4 separate regions of the Homo sapiens genome follow, and regions 1, 3 and 4 are each linked to region 2. The links are contacts of gene promoters, found by promoter capture Hi-C in human tissues and cell types (Jung and others, 2019). All regions are on one chromosome and are shown on one strand. Each heading gives the region's core, a stretch centred on a gene start or on the middle of the fragment in contact. The rest is flanking DNA. Distances are from core to core; before and after follow the strand shown. Region 1 overlaps FBXO9 (F-box protein 9). Region 2 holds the start of GSTA5 (glutathione S-transferase alpha 5). Region 3 overlaps CILK1 (ciliogenesis associated kinase 1). Region 4 overlaps GSTA4 (glutathione S-transferase alpha 4).

Evidence for each region. The method cuts DNA at HindIII sites, captures the fragments that hold promoters and counts their contacts. A contact is called where the count stands out against the background at its distance.
Region 1: a fragment that was not itself captured here is called in contact with the fragment with the promoter of GSTA5 in region 2 in 1 of the 25 tissues and cell types used here (mesenchymal stem cells).
Region 3: a contact is called between a fragment that was not itself captured here and the fragment with the promoter of GSTA5 in region 2, in 3 of the 25 tissues and cell types used here (lymphoblastoid cells, mesenchymal stem cells and thymus).
Region 4: a contact is called between a fragment that was not itself captured here and the fragment with the promoter of GSTA5 in region 2, in 1 of the 25 tissues and cell types used here (mesendoderm cells).

What each region holds. Positions count from the first base shown.
Region 1 is chr6:53,071,613-53,075,531 of GRCh38, forward strand. FBXO9 (F-box protein 9) reads left to right here. Exons shown (of 13, transcript NM_033480.3): 3 at 1,869-2,027. Among named protein-coding and RNA genes, the nearest start is that of FBXO9, 8.2 kb to the left of the region's middle. The HindIII fragment of the contact is 5,649 bases long and covers 1-3,919 here.
Region 2 is chr6:52,837,772-52,842,071 of GRCh38, forward strand. GSTA5 (glutathione S-transferase alpha 5) reads right to left here and starts at 3,042. Exons shown (of 6, transcript NM_153699.3): 1 at 2,956-3,042. The coding sequence starts at 3,042. The HindIII fragment of the contact is 18,057 bases long and covers 1-4,300 here.
Region 3 is chr6:53,003,663-53,007,958 of GRCh38, forward strand. It overlaps CILK1 (ciliogenesis associated kinase 1), which reads right to left. Exons shown (of 14, transcript NM_014920.5): 13 at 2,653-2,775; 14 at 1-1,641. The coding sequence ends at 1,487. Among named protein-coding and RNA genes, the nearest start is that of RN7SK, 10 kb to the left of the region's middle. The HindIII fragment of the contact is 6,922 bases long and covers 1-4,296 here.
Region 4 is chr6:52,981,367-52,985,229 of GRCh38, forward strand. GSTA4 (glutathione S-transferase alpha 4) reads right to left here. Exons shown (of 7, transcript NM_001512.4): 5 at 3,098-3,239; 6 at 1,208-1,339. Among named protein-coding and RNA genes, the nearest start is that of GSTA4, 12 kb to the right of the region's middle. The HindIII fragment of the contact is 3,782 bases long and covers 1-3,418 here.

The sequences.
Region 1 (3,919 bases), core at 817-3,316, 230 kb after region 2:
GCCATTAAATATTTGAAGAGATAATTAGCCTCATTAATAATTTAATCAGATTGGTGAATAATGTGCATCGCTGTCCAAGCTGTGAGAACACTCATGCAGTGTACATGAAAATGTAAATTGGTACAGCTTTCTGGAGGGCAGACTGGTGATATGGATCAAAATGAAAAACATGCATTCCCTTGATACAGCAATTCTACTTCCAGGAAATTAATTTTAAGGAAATAGTGGGGAAAGTAAATATGCAACTATAAAGATGTTTAGTATAGCATTGTTTATCTGGAAAAACATCATACAACTTAAATATTCATTACCTGTTATTAAGTAATGATGCATCCATACAGTGAAAACACTACAGCCATTTAAAAGGATGAAGTAAATCTTTATACATTAAAAGAGAAAAAAAGTTGCTGTAACTAGTTAAGTGTGTCTCACTGCACTTGTAAGGTTAATAATAATTATTTGGAACAGCTCATCTAGTAGACATTGAATGCTGCTAAAGATTCTGCAGGTCAGAGATCTATGTGTAACAGGTTAAAAGCGTAGCAACAAAGCAGTGTACAGAATATAGAGAAAAATTAATTTAAAACATTCTAGATACGTCTTTTTTTAAAAAAAAAAAAGGAAGCCAGGAATAACATATGCATCCCTGTTAGCAATGGCTGCCTTTGGGCAGAACGTGTAACCCAGTTTGGGTTCCCCAGGAAGCAGACTAGGTGAAGATTGCTGTGCAGGAAGTTTATTAAGGAGTATTCTTGGGATCAACACCTATGGAAGGGAGAGAGGGAAACAAATGGGCAGGGAGAAGACCAGCTGCAATGCAGTCTTAATGGACTGCTTAGCCATCCTCGAGGGAGTTCTGAAGATGAAATACCCTTTCAGAGATGACCTGAGTTGCAAAGAGCCAAGACTTTATTAGCCGTTGATCAGTCATTGGGTGGGGATTGAGAGGACAGTGTGATTTTGCTGAGGCAATACCCAAAAGGGCTGACAACTCAAGTGTTTTCAGATAGAACTCTCAGCAGTTTGGGTAACAAGTTCTTTATTTCTGAAAGGGAATCTGGGCAACACACCAGAGTCTACCTTATAGGGTTCACTTTTTATGTGCTTTTAATTTTTTTTTTTTTTGAGATGGAGTCTCGCTCCATTGCCCAGGCTGGAGTGCAGTAGCACGATCTCTGCTGACTGCCAACCTCTGCCACCCGAGTTCAAGCAATTCTCATGGCTCAGCCTCCCAAGTAGCTGGGATTACAGGTGCCCGCCACCACACCTGGCTAATTTGTTTGTATTTTTAGTAGAGACAGGGTTTCACCATGTTGGCCGGGCTGTTCTCGAACTCCTGACCTCAGGTGATCCGTCTGCCTCGGCCTCCCAAAGTGCTGGGATTATAGGCATGAGCCTCTGTGCCTGGCCTTTACATTTTTGAAATAACAAATATTTGAAAAAACATTTTCTTTTTGAAATACAGAATGTTAATAGATTTTGGGCTTACCTACAGAATTTTTGGCAGCATTCTTAATGTCTACTAGATGATATAGTCATTAAAAAATTATTGGAAGCTTATAACTTCAGTCTGTAAGTGATGGCTTATATTTTCAATTCTAATTAAAATTTGGTTTTCCAATATAATTTGACTTTTGGTGTACTGACATGTATTTTATGCTAATTTTCTTGATTCTTTAAGTTTTGAGCAGAAAATTATTTTAAAAGATGTATTTAATGGATATTTAATAATTCAGAAGACAGTGATTTCTGGACTTAGAGTAATAAGTATATACGTGGAAGTAGATAGATGTTGGACATATTGATACATTGTTCCAGAGTTGAGCTACCCTTCCTTGATGAGTCCTAAAATGCTGTTCTCCCCATAGGCACAACTCCAGATGTTCCGAGCTCAGTGGATGTTTGAACTTGCTCCAGGTGTAAGCTCTAGCAATTTAGAAAATCGACCTTGCAGAGCAGCAAGAGGCTCTCTCCAGAAAACATCGGCAGATACCAAAGGAAAACAAGAACAGGCAAAAGAAGAAAAGTTAAGTATTATAGATATTGTAACAAATTACATTTTTTTTTTTTTGGCACATGGAAATTTTCACTGACACAGTAAGTAGGCATTATAACCAGACTTTCGGGACATAAACACATATCTTGTAAAATAAAAATTTTGACTAGTATACTAGTTTATATATTTCTCACAATTTCTTCTAGGTACTTTGGATGGTACCACTACTCCTGCATGGCTTTTTTCTCTGTGGGTACACTGTCTTCATTGAGCTGTCTTTTGTTAATTTATAGACCTCTGGGATTCATGTGGTTCCTAAAAGATTGGTGTCTCTGAATTTATTAACAGAACCAAAAAGAAAAAACAGAATTTTCTAAATTTATTAATAGAACCAAAAAGATTGCTCACATGTTAATGTCTTTCCAGAGGTCTTAATTTCATGCAGTATTTTGTTATATTTTGAATTGATCAGCTTACAATAATGCATTAATCATTTCCTTATTCTGGAAAATTTTGAAATATTTTCACACTGAAAATATTTTGAATGCTGTCTAACATTCATATCTCTTCTGGTACTTACTCACACAGAGTAGGCACAGCATACCATTTCATTTCTTATTCTTCTTCCATAGAGGCTGCCATCTTTTTACCATCAGATCCAAGTTTGTGTTTATAATTAGTCATCAAATAATTGGCATTACCATGATGACTTACCTTCTATCTCCTCTTAATTTTTATTTTGAAATAATTACAGGTCCACAGGTATAGGGAAGTCCTGTGTGCCCTTTAACCTCCTCCGATGGTAACAACTTGCATAACTATAGTACAATATCAAAAACGAGGAAATAGACATTGGAACAATCCACAGTTTACTTGGATTTCCTGAGTTTACAAGCACTTGTCTGTGTGTATGTGTATAAATAGTTGTTTGCAGTTTTATTACAAGGTAGCTTCATGTAACCACCACCACAATCAAGATACAGAACTGTTTTATAGTTATATACTCCCTTTCCCTAGCCATTCGTAACCACTGGCAACCACTAGTCTGTTCTCCATTTTGTAATTTTGATATTCCAAGAATGTTGTATAAGTGGAATCATCCAGTATGTAACCTTTTGAGATTGGCTTTTTTCACTAAGTATAATTCCCTCAAGATCAGTCCAAGTTACTATGTATCAGTAGTTTGTTCCTTTTTATTGCAGAATAGTATTGCATGGTATGGATGTACCCCAGTTTAACCATTTATTGGTTGAAGGACATTTGAGTTGTTTCCAATATTTGGCTGTTATGAATGGAGCTATGGAAATATGTGTGTAGGTTTTCTCATGAACATAATTTTCACTTCTCTGGGATGAAACCCCAAGAGTACAATTGCTAAGTTCTATAGTAAGTACATGTTTGATTTTAAAAGAAACTGCCAAAGTGTTTTCTAGAGTATCTTATATTAAGTTCCCACCAGCAATGTATGAGTGATCCAGTTCATCCTCATCAGCATTTAGTGTTGCTACTTTTTAATTTAATTTAATTAATTTATTTATTTATTTTAAGACAGAGTCTCACTTTGTCGCCCAGGCTGGAGTGCAGTGGTGTGATTCCAGCTCACTGCAACCTCTGCCTCCCGGGTTCAAGCGATTCTCGTGCCTTGGCCTCCCAAATAGCTGGGATTACAGGCCCCGTCAGTAACGCTGGGCTAATTTTTGTATTTTTACAAATTTGTATTTTGTATCTAGAATGCAAAAAGAACTTCCAAAACACAATATTAAAAATATTAGCAATCTAGCTGGGTGCGGTGGCTCACTTCTGTAATCCCAGCACTTTGGGAGCCTGGGGTTTCACCATGTTGGTCAGGCTTGTCTCGAACTCCTGACCTCAAGCAGTCTACCTGCTTCAGCCTCCCAAAGTGCTGGGATTACAGGAGTGAGC
Region 2 (4,300 bases), core at 1,792-4,291:
AATTCATTGAGAAAAGTGCATGGGTCACAGCACATAGCTGCTCAATCTTTTAGTTCACTGCCACCCTGTTCTGATGAATGTCTATGATTAGGTCATATTTTGAGAGGGGACATCACTGGAAAGAAGGCACTGAGCAGTTCTCCTAGTTATGGTGTTGTCATATCTTAGTAAAGCCCGTGTCTCCAGGAGAGATCAGACCACAACCTTGTGTGTCCCCAGTGTGGGGTATGCCATGGGCTAATGGCCATCAAATATTCTGCCACCAAGGAGCCTCTGCTATAATTTATATCACCCCACTTTTCAGGAACCCTGCTAAGGGTGAAATAAGTTGCAGCTGTTGCACAGCTTTCACACTTGCAACTATAATTTTCTCTTCTGAAGTACATGGGACCCAATAGGGTAAAATTCTCAATTTAATAAAGGAATTAGAGTCCCACACTAACATTATTTTTCATGAAAACCTCTGGTTTCTGATGTGGTTTTGTGGGTTCAATATCACCATTTTCATGTACTGTCTTCTTGACTTTGGACATGTTACCGAAACTCTCTGTGTCTGAGTATGCTAATCTATGAAATGGGTATACTTACGGCACCTATGGTATAGGCTGATATCAAGATTAAATTACAAGGTCATGCAAAGCACTTAGAAAAGTAGCAGGTGTATAGTAACTGCTCGTTAAATATAAGTTATGTTTAGAATTTTGAAACTATACTTAGTTCTTGATCTACATCCAGTAACTTAAACATTGGAGTAAATTCCACCTCATCCTGAGACAAGTCACTTTGGTGGAAATAGCAGCCAGCAACAAGGCTGTCTCAATCTGACCAGAAGCTATGAGTGGTTGCAGGTATTTAATACAGATATGAAATTCAGTTATTACATAATGATGCAGTTGACTTAAATAGGCAGAATCTATCAAACCAAAAGTCTAAGCAAAAGTTATCAAGGTTTTCTGGATTTCAATGTTGTTATGATCTGGTTCCAATCTTGACTCTGCCTCAAAATAGCTGTGTGATCTAGGAATTATTGCTTAAAATCTTCAAGCCTTAGATTCTTAATCTGCAAAATGGGAATATAATATTTTCTTAAATGGAATTTTGTAATGTTTCAAAATGCATGATACAGGGCCTGACCCACATACATCAAGTAATAAATAGTAGCGGTGTTTCCAGTGGCTAATTATACTTTAATGGAGTTCTTTATGGTGAAAGATCAGGAATTTGGGGGTTTCTGGCTTGCTCCATGGAACAGAATTTGTTGTGGATCTATGATCACACAGGACCAGGATCTAGAGGTCATGGGGGTGTGTGCCAGCAATTAATAAGGCATCCAGTTCAGGACAAACCTAAGGAACGGTGGGTGGTCCAGGAAGGAGGGTAGACAAGGTGGGGTGGGGTTGGCAAGTGGGATGTGAGGACTGGGTTGTGATCATCAGCCTTAGGGCGCTGAGACCCCAGAAGCCTGAGCAAGGTCTGCAGTCAGCCCTGCCCCCGCCTTCAGTCAGGCTGGATGGAGACCTGGGAACCTGGGTTCCTCCCAGCCTTGCCCCTCCCTCCCTCCTGCTGAACTCTTCCTACCCGGGCTCTGAACACATCCCTGAGCTGCAGAGCTGATGTCTGCGTGACAGTGAAACAGGGTATTCATTTGTACAAAGGAAACAACCTAGAATGATAGTGTTTGGATTTCTTATGTGCTTATTTCTTCATAGAACTGAGAAAGGGTGAGGCTAAAGTCCCAAGCCTTCGTGAAGCAACGCACAAAGTACCGTTCCGAGGCTCAGGTCCACACGGCGCTGTGAGGCTGAAGGGGCGCGCTAGAAGTTCCCTTCACAGGACGCCACCTCACCTGAAACCCCCCTTTTCTGCTGCCACCCGAGGGACAAGATCTCCTGAGTTTGTCCATGACTCACTTCCCAGGAAAACCCTCAGGCAGTCGCTGAAGGACTCTGGTCTGGACTGGGAAGTGTTTTTCTCAGTGACACCTCTAGAGGGCAGCACTCAGCGGAGTCCCACAGACACCTCCAGGCATTTCCTACTCAAACACTGGGAGGATGACCTGGTAACACTGGGGAATGCTTGGGTGTTCTAGAAGCCTCCACGCCTCATTTTAACCACGTGTTTACTTGTCTGCATCCTCATAGACATGTAGGCCGCCCCAGGGCAGGGACTGTGTCTGTCTTGTTCACTGTCTATCTCCATGACCTAGTACAGAACCTGGAATTAATAAGTGCTCAACAAATAATTGCTGTGAATGTAGTCAATCTTTAATAGGTAGTTTGTTACAATCCACTCCCTTACACCTCTCATTTATAGTTTGCATTTTACCTCTAACTACAGCCATTTTTAAATATTACGTATTTTCATTTTTTTGTTGTGGAAATTATGAACATGAATAAAAATAAACAGAAAAGCATAAAAATTCTCCTTATATTTCTCACCTAGAATCAATAATTATCAACCAAAACCAATGTGAAGTTATATTTATGCCCACCTACTTCTCCTTTTGTAATAATTCCAAAGAAATCCCAGATCCATATGATTAATCCTTAAATACTTCAATGTGTTTTCCTAAAACACATAAACTGTTCTAAAGATAACCATAGTACATTATCACACATGAAATATTAACAATAATTATTTCATGTCATCAAATATTCAGTCAATATCCAAGTTTCTAATGCCATAAATTATTTTTTACAGTTTGTTTAAATTCTAATCCACTTAAGTTCTACACTTTTTGATTAGTTTCTTAATTGTATTTTAATATGTATGCTCTTAGATAAGAAGAAATTTTAACAATTTTTAGGTCAAATCTATTCATCTTTTTCTTAATTACAGTCCATTTTTATTTAAGGCACAATGCTTCAGTAAGTAATCATTGCATAGTTTCTGTGGGAAAAGTATGTGATAACGCAATTTTAAATCCAACTTAAGATGACCTTACTCAGAACCTACCTCTACTCCAGCTGCAGCCAGGAGCCACCGAATGGACTCCATACTGCCCCGTGCATTGGAGTAGTGGAGCTTGGGCTTCTCTGCCATGATAGCAGTCTCCTGGAGGTTTCTCTAAGCCTGAATGAATGAATGAATAATTGAAACGATAGAATCAAAAATGTACTTTAGGATGTGTGGTTGAAAACCACAAACAATGCTGAAGAAGAACCTGCCTTCTTCATGACTGGGTTGAAGGAGTTCCTGGAATGTTTTCTTGGCTCAAATTGTTACCCAGCAGTGGCCACCCTCAAACCAGTCTCAAGTCTTCATTGTTTACCTGTGACTTTTCTTGGCAGCCTAAGAGGTGAGAGTATGTGGTAATAATACATGTACAGGAGTTAATGGAAGGGGAAGAATTCAAGAACTAATATTTATTGAAAACTTCCTCATGATCCTTCCTCAATGCTAGTCCCTTTCAATATTTTATATCTTTAACCCTCCTTATAGTCTCATTAAATGGTTGTTTTCTCCAATTTTTAGTTAATGAAATCGAACATCAGAGAAATACAATGTTCACAGTCACACTCTGGTTGGTGATGGACATGAATATCTACACCAAGGACTAAAATGAAGTCACGCCTGGAAGACATCTGGGTGAAGGCCCTGGGAACCCATGAACTGGTTGTGAAACCAGAGGATGTCACTGACAGGGAGGACCGGCAGGGAGCTAAGTCACTCTTCAGCTCTCTGGCTGTGAGACTGCATTTGATCAAAACCAGAAATTAGGCTTCAGACTTGTTTTACTGTAGCTAGAAGATCCAAAGTCTTTCAACAGAGAATGCTAATACCTTGCTTCTTTTGGTGTTCTATATTTTAACTCTGTGGGGGGCATTTTGTTTTATAACCTGGCAAAAGAGATGTTGCTGCATTAACTTTGCAGGATATGGAAGGAGCTAGCATTTGTTCAACGTCAGTCATACACTGGCCATTCTTCTAAACTTCTCTCATTTTGTCCTACAAAAATCACCTAAGGTGAAAGGCTGTTGCTATTCTCATTTTACAGTTGAGGATACTGAGGTTTTTAAAGTAACTTACCCAGATTAAGTGGTGGATCTGGGATGCAGACTCACTGCTATTAAAAACTAAAGACTGAGTCTTATTTTCTATGTTAATGTTTCTCAAATATGCATGGTAATCTTTCAGTAGATTGTGAAACCCCAGTACTTTTTAAAATAAAATAGAAAAGAATAAAAATATCAGTGAGCATGACATGTTGAAGGGTAAGTAATGTTTCATGAGTTGTTAGTTTCAGTTATTTGTATATTGTGTGTATGGATGTTTGCATGTGTGCACGCTCACCTGCTTG
Region 3 (4,296 bases), core at 1,305-3,804, 170 kb after region 2:
AGAGAGCTAAGATCGCGCCACTGCACTCCAGCCTGGGTGACAGAGTGAGACTCTGTCTCAAAAAAAAAATAAAAAATAAAAGATTACTTACATATGGTTCAATTTGTCATTATCCTGGAACCAATAGAGAGTAGTTTGAGCCCTAGGAGAATATGAATCAATACACTGTTGAGATTGCATTGCGTTCACTGATGGTGACCTTCCCTCTTGCCTTTAAGGCAACCATAAGTGAGGCAAATGTACCATATAGAGATGGATGAGACTGGACCTTTTGTCTTTTTCTGTCTCCAAACTGACTTTGTCATTTTTGAAACTGCTGTAAACATTCCTCTCAATGGAACAGCCTCTGCCCAACAAATAAAGTTCTCACTCTTGAAAGAAACTACACCAGGGTTAGGAGATCAAATGTGGCATGTGACTGTGACTTTGTAGATGAGTGGAACCTCTGCCATAACTCTTTCTGCTCCCCAAATTGTCCTGAGAATTTGGCTAGGACAGAACATTAGTCATTGACTGCTCCTAGCCAGATCTGGAGAACTGAGCTAGGCACAAAATTCCATCTCAGTTACTATAATCAAAAACCTTCTGCTGCTTTGATACTTAGTTTTTTGGCCATGCATCTTGGCAGGAATGTAAGTTTGATTGACTGTGTTAACCTTCATGTTGAGAGCCTTTTGAAGCAGAAATCTCTTTTATTGGTACACATACAACTTGATTTCAAAAATGGAATAAATTAGAATATAATGGCATAGTATAATTAAGCTTGGTTTCATCTGAGATCTGCAACCACATTAAAGGGTGTCAGAAAAATTTTTTAAAATGTATTTACTTAGAGTTCTTTCATCTGGGGAACAAAAGTAAAACAAAGTGAATTATATAATATAATAGTCCTTTTAGAACAGCAGAGTGGTATCCAAAAATCAAACCAATGACCTACTAAGAAAAGCAGAGGATCACTTTTCTAACAACAGTCCAAGAAGGCCTGAAGTACCTAGTGAGCCACACTTGAAATTTCACCACTTCATAAATATCTGCACACACTGAGTAAATAACCCTCTATCACATAGCCTTAAATTGCACCCCTGTTGCAATACTGCATTAATATTATTACATTTTTCAAAATCTGTAGAAAATATTATCTGGAACCCCAAAGGAAAATCAATTAATTTTTAAAAAGTTCATTACAAAGTTGACTGTATAAAATGCTAAAACATAATCCATATATACAAAATGCTGTTGTTTAAGAAAATAATGGGACCCAGTTTTAGAATAAAATAATTTTATACAAAAAAGCCTACTGCATTCAAATCAATATTTTAAAAAAAAACTTTAAAAAAGAATATTGACATGTCTTAGTTCAGAAGAATAACTATAAAGTGTTGATTTGCTTTTATGCCCTCTGCACATCTTGCAGGTAGAACACCAGTCAGCTGAGGGAAAGTATCCTGCTTCTCCCTAGGAAGAGATTCATCACCAAGGCAGACAGTCATCGCCGAGATGCGTACTTGGAAGCCCAGTCTGTCCGGCCATGCACTGGCTGGGCGGCTGGAGGCCGTGGTATCAACCCAGGAGTGCTTCTAGGCTGGGTGTGGAAGAATGGTCGCCCAGGATGAGGTCTCATGGCCTTCAGGGAGGAATAACCTGCAATGAAAGAAAAAGGCCGGCATGACTGATATGGGGCCAATGTAAGCAAAGTACAAATAAATGCATTTTGGTGACAAAAACATGAGAAAATAAGGAGTTCAAGAGGAGCATCTTGTCTCCTACTTATAATCTTCTCTACTGCAGTTAAAGACATCGTTTTAAAGTTGTCAGGCCAAAAATAATGGCATCATTCTTGACCCCTCTTTTTTTCATATACCACATATAATTTGTCAGGATATCCTATTAGTTCTACCTTCCAAATATTTACAGAACCTGGCAACTTTTTACCAACTGAACTACTACCACGCTGGCCCAAGCTAGCATCATTTCTTACCTGGATAATTTCAACATCCTCCTAATTGGATTCCCTGCTTCCTACCTTGCCCCTACTTCAGTCTCATGACAACAGCAGCTTGAGGGAGCCTGTGGAGATGGCTGTCAGATCACCTCACTTATGGACTCAAAGCCCTCCAGGGACTCCACGTCACTCAGAATCCATGACAATGTGCTTACAGGCATCGTATCACCCCTGACCTCATCTTGCTACTCCCCCTCTCACTCCTGTCACTCCCACACTCTGGCCTCCTTGCTGCTCCTTGAATTTGCCAGGCCAGTTCTGCCTGAAAGCTCAAGCACAGAACAATCTCCTGTCTGGAAAAGCCTCACTCATACTGTATGCTTGCTCAATCACCTCCTCCAGGTCTCTACTCAACAACTCCTTTGCAGTGAGCTCTTCTTTAGCTACTCTATCTAAAATTGTAACCTGTACCCCACACTCCAACCCCCACAATCCCTACCTCCTGTCTGCTGTATTTTTCTCCTTAGCACTAAGTCAGTAAGCATCTGACTTACTATATGTTATATAGCACTTATTTAGCTTACTTATTGTCTGTAGAGTGCAAGTTTCATTTATTGGTGGATCCCAGGCCTAAAACATGCCTGGCACAAAGCAGTTGTTGAGTAACCATTTGTTGAGTAAATTCATGAATAATTTAAAATACAACTCACCAGGGGAAGGGTCTGGAATAGGTGCTAGGTGTACCCTCTGCATAGCAGAACCGATTTCTTTTTTCAGAAAGGAAGGGACATAGTTTCCAGTCAGTCCACTAGAACTTGTAGAGCTGGAACCAACTGATTTGCAAAAGCAAAAAGCTCATTATTACAAAGACATGTACCCAGGACACCAACAAGGTTAAATGACAGCACTGCAGAGCAATAACAAACTAAGTTTTTACTTTTAGGGAAAAGAGCAAATCATGATAAAAATGAGTTCAGAGCCAAGCATCCCACCATACTACCCTGTCAGAAAGACTGCGGGGGCCAAAGACAGTGCTGCTCCTGTGAGGGGCAACCAAATAGAGGGTGGGTTGGTTGTGAAATTTTTTTAAAAAAGGGAAATATGACATTTGTTCTTTATTTTCTTTTGTAAAAGTAGATTTAGACTATTCTAAAATTTGCTTTTTTCACTCCATAATATAGAATAGTTATCCTTCCATGTGAGTACATATAAATTCTAGAGTATGGCTAAACCATAATCCATTTAACCATTTTCTTATTGATCAACACACAGGTTATATTAAATTATTTAGCTGTGACAAGTAATTACACACTAAATATTCTTATCCACATCAGAAAAATTAACCATTTTTTACAATGTGAAATACCTTAACTTTTTATGTCATTTCCACTTGGGAGTGCTTTAAGGGCAGGGACTGTATGCTACTCGTCTTGGTATTCTGGGGAGGATAACAGAATGCCTTGCATATAGCAGATAATCAATTAATTTTGGATGGGTGAATGAATATAATTCTTATTATTTAGGCTTAAAGGTACACATGGAATAATGAAGACTGTTATTATTGCCCGTTATAGAAATGGAAATTCTAACCATTAAGAAAAGTCAGTAAGTAGTAGAGTTGCTCTGTTTTCACAACACAGAGCTTTTTCAGCAATTGTTTAAGGCAGAGTGGAAACACAGTCTAGAATGCCTGCGTGAGGAGTTGCGTTGGTCAGCTGGGGTGTATTTTGTACTTTGGTGAATGAAGAAACATGAAGAAAAATGGGAAGAGAATTTGAACAGGTAAGTCACAAAAGAGAAAAAACTTATAGTCAATAAACACAAGAAAAGATGATGAACCTCATTAGTAAATAGGACATGCAAGTTTAAACCACAATAGGATACCATTTCTCACTCATCAGATTAGCACAAATTTTAGTCTTGACAGTACCAAGTGGCATCAAGGATGCAGAGCAACTCCCATATCCCGCTGGAGAGCAAGTAGTTTGGCAATATCTGTGAAGTTGAAGATGAGCACACCCTTTAACCTAAAATGTTGACTCTGGCTGGGCATGGTGGCTCACACTTGTAATCCCAGCACAATGGGAGACCCAGGCGGGTGGATCACCTGAGGTCAGGAGTTCGAGACCAGCCTGGCCAACATGGTGAAACCCTGTTTCTACTAAAAATACAAAAAAAAAAAAAAATTAGCTGGGTGTGGTGGCACATGCCTGTAATCCTAGCTACTTGGGAGGCTGAGGCAGGAGAATTGCTTGAACCAGGGAGGCAGAGGTTGCAGTGAGCCGAGATCATGCCACTGCACTCCAGCCTGGGCAACAGAGCAAGACTGCGTCTTAAAATAAATAAATAAATAA
Region 4 (3,863 bases), core at 278-2,777, 140 kb after region 2:
TTCAGGGATTGGCAAGCTTTTTCCATAAAGGACCAGTCAGCAAATATTTTAAGTTCTGCAGGCCATATGGTCTCTATCAGATCTACTCAACTCTGCTGTAGAAAAACAAAAGTAACCTTGACATTGTGTAAATGAGTGGGCATGGCTTTGTACCAATGAAATTTATGAATACTAGAATTTGAATTTCATATAATTTTTATGTGTCATGAAATATTATTCCACAGATTTTTTTCAACCATTTAAAAATGTAAAAATTATTCTTAACTCACAAGCTGTATAAAAACAGGTGGCAGGCCAGGTTTGGCCCAGGAGTTACAGTCTGCACATTAGACTTGGAGATAAAAGGCTAAGGTTCTAGATAAAACTCAAGCATCCACTGCCTAAGCCAGCTTGGCTGCTGATTTCTTTATTCTGGGTCTCTACTTCCTCAAGTGAATATTGAAGTCATTAAATGAGTTTTTTTTTAAAGGCCCTTCTCTCCTTTAAAGTTCTATGATCAATCCTGCCAGAATAACCCTGAGGGATAATTTGAACCACACAAGTCTTTCCTTGGAATTCTCAGAAGGAGAATGGTAGGAATCCTTTGGGGTGATGTTTAGGGTGCTAACATCTCTCATTTGCTCTCAGAGCTCAGGCTTAGAATTTCCTAACTTGAGACCATACTATTTCTGAGAAAGGGAGTCATAGCCTGATGAATGAGACTGTTTTGATGTTTATCTCGCCCACTATTCCATCAGTAGATACATGTGAGTGTGAGACCACCTCATCTCTATGGTTATTTCTATGGAAAGTCCCCTGAGGCAAACTCCCTGTGCATGGAGTTTTTTCCAGGAGTGCAGTTATGGAACAAAATTAAGATGAAAATTTCTGAGCTGGGTGTGCTGGCACATGCCTATAGTCCCTGCTACTCAGGAGACTGAGGTGGGAGGATCTCTTGAGCCCAGGAGTTCAAGACCATTCTGGGCAACATAGTAAGATCCCACCTTAAAAAAAAAAAATTTTACACTTCAATGATCTTTCAACTTGAAGGATTTAAGGACCAGAAAAATAACTTTGGGTCCTTACTTTCATTTCATTTGCCAAACTAGAATCTTAAAAATATTACACATACACACACACACACACTCCCCAAAGCCAACCAAACAATAGACACTGAAGGAAGGCCCAAGAGTTCTAGGCCAATCTTCTAATACATAGTTTTATTTACCTGGAGGAAAGGAAATGCAGACAGGATATTAGGAATTTTCTCTTCTAGAGCTAAAATGGTTTGGAGTAAAATCACATCTGCAAGGCTCAGCTGATTACCAACAAGAAAGCTTTGTCCGTGACCCCTTAAAATCTGTAGGGAAATGGTGTGCATCAGTTACAATATTCCACATGGAGAGAGTGATGAGGCTATTGAATCAGTGCAGTATCTGAGAAGAGGTGAAACTATGACCTTGTCATTTCATGCTTTCATAAATAACATCAATTAAGAGAACGCACCCTATATCTGACAGAGAGAGTGAGAGAGAGGGGGAGAGAGAGAGAGAGAGAGCGAGAGAGAGAGAGAGAAAGTACAAAAAAGGTGTGGAAATGAAAGCATCCTTAAATATCTGCTGTGGATCTGAATGAGACATTGAAGTGGGGAAGGGAAAATTCCTTATTTCTGGATTTAGCATCTGGTGTTTTGAAAGGATATATCTACTCCAAAAATGTATCTACAGAAATGCATGCAGGAGGCTTGGGGAGGGGCAGGGTGATTTAAGAAATCTAAGTGATAGATCATCTTCAAGGGGCCCACTCTTATTTCCCAGTTCTGCTGCTAGAACATCAAGAGGTGTAGTCATAAACTCAACCCAATTATAAAATTAGACTTCCTCTTACATGTCCCAAAACAGAGAAAATGAAAAGCTTGAGTTCATCTTGACTCCCATTCTGAGGGTAACGTATAGGTGTGGGGCTTATAAGAATAGATTGTGATTAGGGAGAGGCAAGAAGCAGTAGTAGCAAAGGGGAGATCCCCTTCACAGTCAACTCTTGGATGCCCATGGGTGTCTGCATGTGCACAAGTGTGTGTGTCACAGGGACTCCGAACACAATTCCAGGTCAAATATAGCTACTGGAGCCAGAGTGGCATAGTACAATGCATCCTGAATTTGTAGTCAGAGGCCAGAGTTCCAACCCTGCTCTCCATTTTCTGGCCATGTTACCTTGGACAGGTCACTGAATCTCTTCATGACTTCATTTCATTATGTGTAAAAGGGACAACGGTTCTCACCTCATAGGCGTGTTGCAAGAAACCCTGACACAGTCTGGGCCCTTGGGACCTAAGAATGAGCAGTGAACCTTTGCCAAAGCACCAGGTCCTCTGTGCCCGTTCCAGACCACATTTCTTCATTATCCTATTTTACATTCACAAAGTGCCTGTGGGAAAGATACCATAAAACCTAGCTACAGAAACCCCAGAAAATACCTCTCCTTTTTCCTAAATCTAGTTCCATAAAGATGGTCAGAGGAAGCTTGCCAAATAGGTCTTCCCATATTTTCACACCCTCTTCTTTAGTGTTTGCATTGAAACACTAAAAAAGTTCCTCCCAGTTCAGGAATAAAGAATTTGAAGCTCAGAAAAGCAGATATAACAAGAAGAGAAAAACAACAAAACCAAAAACAAAAAGAGCAAAGGGAAGATAAATAAAATGGAAATGGTTCTTCTACTCATATCGAATTATCAGGGAGGATGTCAGCTGAGACAGCTGTTCGACAACTTTTGTTGAATGAATGAATGAGGTAGTTTTTGTTTTCTGTATCTTCTGAAGTTTCTGCTGTATCCACACAAGGTGGGAACTTGGTGAATGCAAGGAACAATAAGGAACAAAGGCAGGGAGCCCATACTTTTTCTAGACTTCTGAATCATGTGGTCCTAGCAGAGTCCAAGGGGCTCTAAGACACCAGCTTTGTGCTGTGGCTACTATTCGCTCTTAGGAGTCCATTAGCGCTTAGGTTAGTTCAACTGGGCTCAGTTTTAAAATCCTTGGACAGAAAAGGGTGTTTGTGGCAGCTTCTTTGTGGTTTGTGGTTTGGTTGCTCTGTGTATGTAGGCATCTCTGCCACCTACCTTTTCAAACACAGGAAAGTATCTAATTATAGCCTTCTGGGCCATGTTAACCACTTCCTTTTGCTGATCATCTGGTTTTAAGAAAGGATGCATGATAAGCAGTTCCAGCAGATCCAGTGTCCCCTCCACGTACATGTCAATCCTTAAAACAAAAAAGCAGTTGTCTCAGTTTCTCCTCTCTTTGAAGCCATCAGTTTCCACAACTAAGAATTCAGAGTGCTTTTTTTTTTTTTTTTAAAGATGCTGCAACTTAAGTCCCTAGAAGCATTTACCTATACCTGTCTCTTAAGAGCAAAGATATAAGGTCAATTCTAGTTGTAACTCAGAAAAATCTGTCACAGATCAGACAGCTTGACAGTCATGAGTGCTCTCTCTCCTGGCATCCTACTCCTCCACTTTTACCCCAGCATCCATGTTTTGGTCTCTTCGTATGGGTCAAACTTCAACTTTATAAAAATAGTGAATACCACTTATTGAGTGCTTAGAGTGTACCAGGCATGGTGCTAAACACTCTCTATCCATTATCTCATTAAATCACATGACACTATGAGAAATGTACTATTCTTATACCCACGTTGCCCAGGGTCATACATCTAAGGGGTGCAAGGACCAGGCTTTGATTTCAAATTATAATCTAATGCTCACTCTCCCAGGCCTTGAATGTCACAGCAGCTCCTCATTCCTAATACTTAACAATAGTGAATGTGCAAGAAAGGGAAAAAGCAGTATCAAAGCATTTAAAAATGTTGAAATCTGAAACAATGAC